2 separate regions of the Homo sapiens genome follow, and region 2 is linked to region 1. Evidence: promoter capture Hi-C in human tissues and cell types (Jung and others, 2019). All regions are on one chromosome and are shown on one strand. Each heading gives the region's core, a stretch centred on a gene start or on the middle of the fragment in contact. The rest is flanking DNA. Distances are from core to core; before and after follow the strand shown.

Region 1 (2,814 bases), core at 123-2,622:
TTTCACTTTTGAGCTTTTATTCGTTTAATAAATGTTTTATCATCTATGCTCAATAACATTTTAAAGTGTCCATTCAAATCATTTCATTGGGCAAAACAATGTTCCTTCCCTAATTTCCCTCATCAGAATAGCCATTTTGTCTCTGTGCTCAGCCTATACCACCAATTACTGTTTATTTCCTGTCCTTGTAATAAGCAACATAGTTATTTATACATGCCCATTTCTCCCACAGCACATAAGCTTTTTAAGGTTGGGAACCATGTCTTTGTCATTATTGTAACATCTCTTTCCATTCCCGGTGTTCAGTACGATGTGTTAAACGAAGTAGACACTCAAAACTTTTTAAAATTTATTTTTATTTATATAATGAGTCTTTTTTAAAAAAACCACCTACACTATTTTAAATTCATTTGAACTTTGTCCAGTATCCTATGTACATTTGAAGTTTAACTACCGGAAAAGTCTTTTGAAGGCAGATCGAATCATGTTATTTTTTTCCCTTAAAAATCCCTCATTTCTGTCATGTATTCCCCATATTATTTATGTAATAGGTAAAGTGGCCCAGTTTGCCACTTTGAAGTTGCTGAGCTGGTATCACAAGTCAGTCCCCTCTGTTTTAATCTCTGTTTAAGGAAAGTCACTCTGAAACGACAGATCTTTTGGTTCCTTATTTCTGCTTTCCTCCGTCCTCTTCTGCCTGTGAAGCCACCCTCCTCTGCTCAGCTCTGTTTCAGGAAATCGGAGCTGCTCGATTCATGTGTAGCAAATCAAAGCCAATTAGATCTGCGTTAACCTTGGTTTTCAACAACTTGTATCGTGAAAAGGTTTCTGTCCATGTTTACCCTCATCTTGTCACCATTTAGACCCCTACATACACCGGCTCGCGGAGCCTCCAGCCATTCAGCGCTAGAAAATCGGGGGGACTACGTCTTAAAACCTTGAGCACCTGTTTGGGAACATCTGCACCTCCTCCCTTGAGGGAGAAAACGACCCAGACATTCGCGTCAAAGGAAGTGTCGTCTATTTCCCTCAACGCAGGGCACCCGTTCTAGGAATGTTTGTATAAACACCGTAAACCTGCCTGGTACCACCATGAATGACACAAGAGCTAGTTTAAAAAGAAAGCAAAGAAACAAACGCAAAACCCGAAACCGCATCCTCCACCGCAAAGGTACTCGGATGGGGCGCCCGCCCTCCCCTTAGTCAGAGGACAAAGGGGGCGTGGCCGAGCGCGCGGCGCCCACGTGACCGCGGAGAGCTGCGCGCAGGCCCTTCGCGCGATCTGCCGTCATATCAGCTTATGGCGCCGGTCGCTGATTGGCTGGCCGCTCCAGCCTCCCGGCCCGCTTGCTGGCTGCCCAGCTGCTAGGACAGTTTGCAGAGCAGTGGCGTGCGGAGCGGCGGCGGACCACCTCCAGGTGGGGACGGTGGGTGGGCGGGGAAGGAAGCGGAATACACCTGAGCGGGCTGGGCCGGGGGGCGATGGAATAAAAGAAGATGGAGAGACTTCAGCGCCTGGGACTCGGGTGGGCGAGGCGGAAGGTGTCCTCGCAGCACGGCTTTTCTCCGCGCCGCGGTTGGTTAGCGAGTGCCCTCTGGGTGCTAGGCGTTGGGCGGATGGTAGGATCGCGGTAGCATACGGATCCGAGTCCTGCGCCGAGTGAGAGGAGAGGCTGGCAGGTAGCCTGGCATCCCGAAGACTGGCGGCGAGGGCTGGGCCGGGGGACCTCGGGGCCTGGAGGGCTGCGCCACCTGGGAGTCCGGGCGGAGGGGCCTTCCGCTCGCGCTGGGAGGGATCGCGGGGCCGATAGGGAGGCCTGGACTTGAAGGAGCCGACCGTGGACGGGCTTAAAGAAAATGCAGTGTTTGATGTTGGGTGTTGCAGATCTCTTACTCAAGGGAATTCTGGTCTGGCTGCTGAACACGAATGCTTTACTTTTCCCTTCGTTCTGGGAGGGTTTTTTTCTTTTAAAGGCCAGAAGAATCAGGCTGAAGAACTGGTCGGTATCAGAACTCCTGACCATTGCAAGCCTCTGTTGCTGCGGCGTAATTAGAATGAAGGGACAGCAATCTGGGGCTGAGGAGACTGAAAGGAAAAGGGAAATAATCTGTTCCTTTTGCATCATAAAAGGAAAAATAATGTATACTGACATCCCTGTGTTACAGCAGAGTAGATTTGGAGGTGGTGTAAGTGAAGAAAACAAGACCTCAGTACATAGAGTTTCCAAACTGGAAAGTTTGTGGCAGCTCGGTACTTTTAGAGGAAACCCTCTGGAAGTTATTTGTCTTTATATCACTATCATTTTTTAAAGTTTCTAATGATTGATACCTAGTAAATAATAACTGATCCTTGATCATTTACAGAGTGCTTTTCCATTCGTTATGTAATGTAATTAATTAGCATGGGGTGGTACTCAGAATCCCTCATCTGCATATAAAACATCTTGAGAGATAACATAACGTGGTAGCAAAGAGAAAGGTTGTGGAATGTACATCCCAGCTGGTTTTTTCTGTTATTGTTGCTTGCTACTGAACAAGTTATTTAAATACTCTGACCTCAGTTTCCCTATCTATAAAGTGGGGAGCATAGAAGTACCTATCTCATAGAGGTATAGGGATTAGATGAGGTTATACAAAAATAATACCTGGTTCTCAATAAATATTAGCTATCATTTTCTATACTTTTAAAGTAGGGCAAAAAGATAATGGTAGACTGAGTTGTTCTAAGCCTAATATTGTTATTATAACTGAGTTTTAAGAAGAAGTTTCTTTAATTCTGCAAGGACAAAGTATTTAAGTTTCTGTTTGAAGCAG
Region 2 (3,024 bases), core at 295-2,794, 800 kb after region 1:
TCAGCTGTTCTTCTTTTCTGCTACTGCCCCTTCCTGAAAGTGAACTCCAGTCCTTACTGTTTTAGCATCAACGCAAAATATGTTAGTAAATACAGAACGTGGAGGTGGAATCAAATATAACTTTGAAGGACGACTGTTGGAACAAATGAGCTCCAGATCCACCGGTTCTGGAGTTGTTCCTATGCCTCCATACTTTAGAATACCTTCAAAAATTCTTAAAGCTGTAAAAGAATTTAGAGCCCAACTAATCCAACCCATGCATTTTAAAGATAAGGGTATTTGAGAAGAGTTGTTATTAATGTTTCTCTTTTTTTATAAAAGTTGTTATGAATAAAATATACTTCTCAGGTAGATGTTTCTTTAACTGAAGACCTTATCATCAGCCTCTTCATCATGCTTACACAATGAAGATGTCTAATAAGTCAGGCACACCAAAAGGGGTACACTATGACACATCACTGCTTTCTGCCCTAAACACTTTTGATACACCGAGGATGCTGGCTCCCTAGATGGCAGGTATAATATGTTTTTTAATCTGTAAAGTAACTAAGTGTTAAACGTTAATAGGTATTTTTCTGATTAAGCATGCAATAACTGATCTTGGATGAGTAATTAAATATACATCTTAAAGATTTTAGAATTTATTATTTTGTGAACATTGACAGGGATGATGGGGTGCTAAGCTTTTGATACTCATTTGTAAAACTCATTTTTTAATAAATTAAAATATTATGTATTAAGGAATAACATTTTGCACAATTTTTTATGGCTCATTTGGATATCTAATGATGGCAAATCCTTGAATACATGAGCAGGTGAAAAGTAAACCTTGTATTGCTTTGGTATTAGGTAGCTATACATCACGCAAAATGTCTCTTTCTAATAGGGACTCCATCATTAAAACAAATTTTGAGAAACAGATAGTATAAATATGTGAATGACCATATTCTAGGTGTCTACTATGAGTCAACTGTTCTACAAATCAGCTTTCTTTGGGCTCTATGCCTACTCAATTGCAATGAGTCATATCTTGTATCTCAATATAAGCCTCCCTTGGAATCCTTTTTGTCTCCCAAACACATAAGCATAAATCGAGACCCTTGTATTGCCTTGCCCGGGGTCCTTCTGTGACCTGATGGTAATGATTCTCCAAATTTGCATCAAGAGCCTCTTCACCTACTGAGCCAACTACCAGGCTGACCAGCCAACTCGCTGTTGCTCTGACTGGGCTATTCCTTAATAGGTAGATCTTCAGGGATCAGTTCCCTGGAAGGAGGCTCTCCAGTGGGGCCATCAGTAGACCTTGGACATCATGTCAAGACGTTAAAAGGGAAGTTGATGTTAGTGCACAAATAACCTAAGGCAGAGTTTCAGTATTCAACATGTGCCATGCAAAACAGTGAAAAACAATAAAAGAAATTGCTGATTATTGTTATTGTTTTGATTACTTTGGTTAAATTAAAATTATTATCTCTGCCTAAGGTCATTTCCCTGGCATTCTATTTTGTTATTCCAACAAAGGAACTAATATTCTCAATTACTTCAAGTTGTCTAAAGTCAGAAAAAGACTAAATCAATCAAGAGTAGCAAATATTTTACAAATTAAGCAAGTGTCCACAATGATAACCCTTTCAGAGATAATTAATTTCCAACATCTAGGTCGCACATATTTATTCTTGCATAAGAACACAGATCGTAGAGTCCTCGTATCCCTATATTAATTAACAAAGAATTTTTTTAAAATAAGCTTATTTTAAAAAGATTCTACTCAGGAACCATTTCAATGATGAGAAATGCACAAGAAAAGAAAAAAACTCAAGTAGGCAACATGTAAAGCAACAGACAACTATATGCACATTAGTATAATTACACATTGCAAATTATATCGGATGTATCTAATATCTAATTTTTTGAAAGCTGATTCCACTTGAGACTTCAATAACAGCATCAACATTTTGCAGGTGGCTCCTTCTGTATAGTATCCAAAGGGAATTATTCCTCTAATGTGCTTACAACCCTCAAGTAAAAGCTAAAGCTCTCTCTTAAAGGACCAATGAACAATGAACACTAGGAATATTACCTTGATAAAGGAAGGGGGGAGGGTTTCACCATACATAATATTCAGCACGGTTATTTATTCTCTTCCTTCTGTGCCCATGATATTTATTTGCTTCAAGCAATAAGAAACAAACTTAAACAGGAGACTCATTAGAAAATGTGAACGAGGCTACATCTATATTTTGAGGCAGCGATATAAGAAGCTAAGGGTTGATAATTTCTTAGATCACTCGATAATAGAGAAATGTTCAACAGAATGGCAGGTTATATCTTTGACTGAAAACAGAAAGCCCTACATTAAATTCAGCACTTCTAAAACATAGGATTAATTTGTCCTAAAGAGGACACCAGATCAAAGCTCTGCTTTGAGAAACAGGCTTTTGTCCTCATCTTTCTATATGAGTTAATCAATCATCAAATAACCAAAATAAATTTGTGATCTTGGAGAACGAAGCATATTATTCAAGGTGATTGGATCCATTTTCTTGATTCCTCCTTCAAGATCTTTCGGCTAATTAGTCAGGGTTACTATAGAATTATTTAATTATCTGCACTTTTGTGCAATAAAATATGTTGTCATATCACATACTTTATCATGCTGTTGCAGTTCACACTTAATGATGCCTCTATAGTTAGCTGTTTCCTTTGTTCTGCTCAGTAAGTGGTTTTAGAAAGAGGGTGGGCCGGGAAGGTGGAGCCCTGGGGTTTGTAAAATAAAATCATATATTCCTGGTCTACATGCCAAACTTTATGCATTTAAATGAATTTCTTCTTAGAAATTAAGTGGCAATTCCATTCGTAATAAGCTAAGAGGCACAGGTCGGTGACTTGGAATGCAACCGCAACAGTGTTACTATACCTTGAACATCTCTCTAGTGCATTTCCACTGCAGTGCAATGGTAAAACGACGATTTAATTTTTTTTTTTTTTTTCTAATCAGCAAGGAATGTCTTTAACAAGGAAGAA

Evidence for each region. The method cuts DNA at HindIII sites, captures the fragments that hold promoters and counts their contacts. A contact is called where the count stands out against the background at its distance.
Region 2: a fragment that was not itself captured here is called in contact with the fragment with the promoter of SC5D in region 1 in 1 of the 25 tissues and cell types used here (hippocampus).

Annotation. Positions count from the first base shown.
Region 1 is chr11:121,291,399-121,294,212 of GRCh38, forward strand. It overlaps SC5D (sterol-C5-desaturase), which reads left to right and starts at 1,373. Exons shown (of 5, transcript NM_006918.5): 1 at 1,373-1,418. RefSeq lists an enhancer at 1,115-1,164 and a silencer at 1,335-1,384. The HindIII fragment of the contact is 8,425 bases long and covers 1-2,814 here.
Region 2 is chr11:122,092,910-122,095,933 of GRCh38, forward strand. All of the region lies in intron 4 of MIR100HG (mir-100-let-7a-2-mir-125b-1 cluster host gene), which reads right to left. Among named protein-coding and RNA genes, the nearest start is that of MIR125B1, 5.4 kb to the right of the region's middle. The HindIII fragment of the contact is 3,331 bases long and covers 1-3,024 here.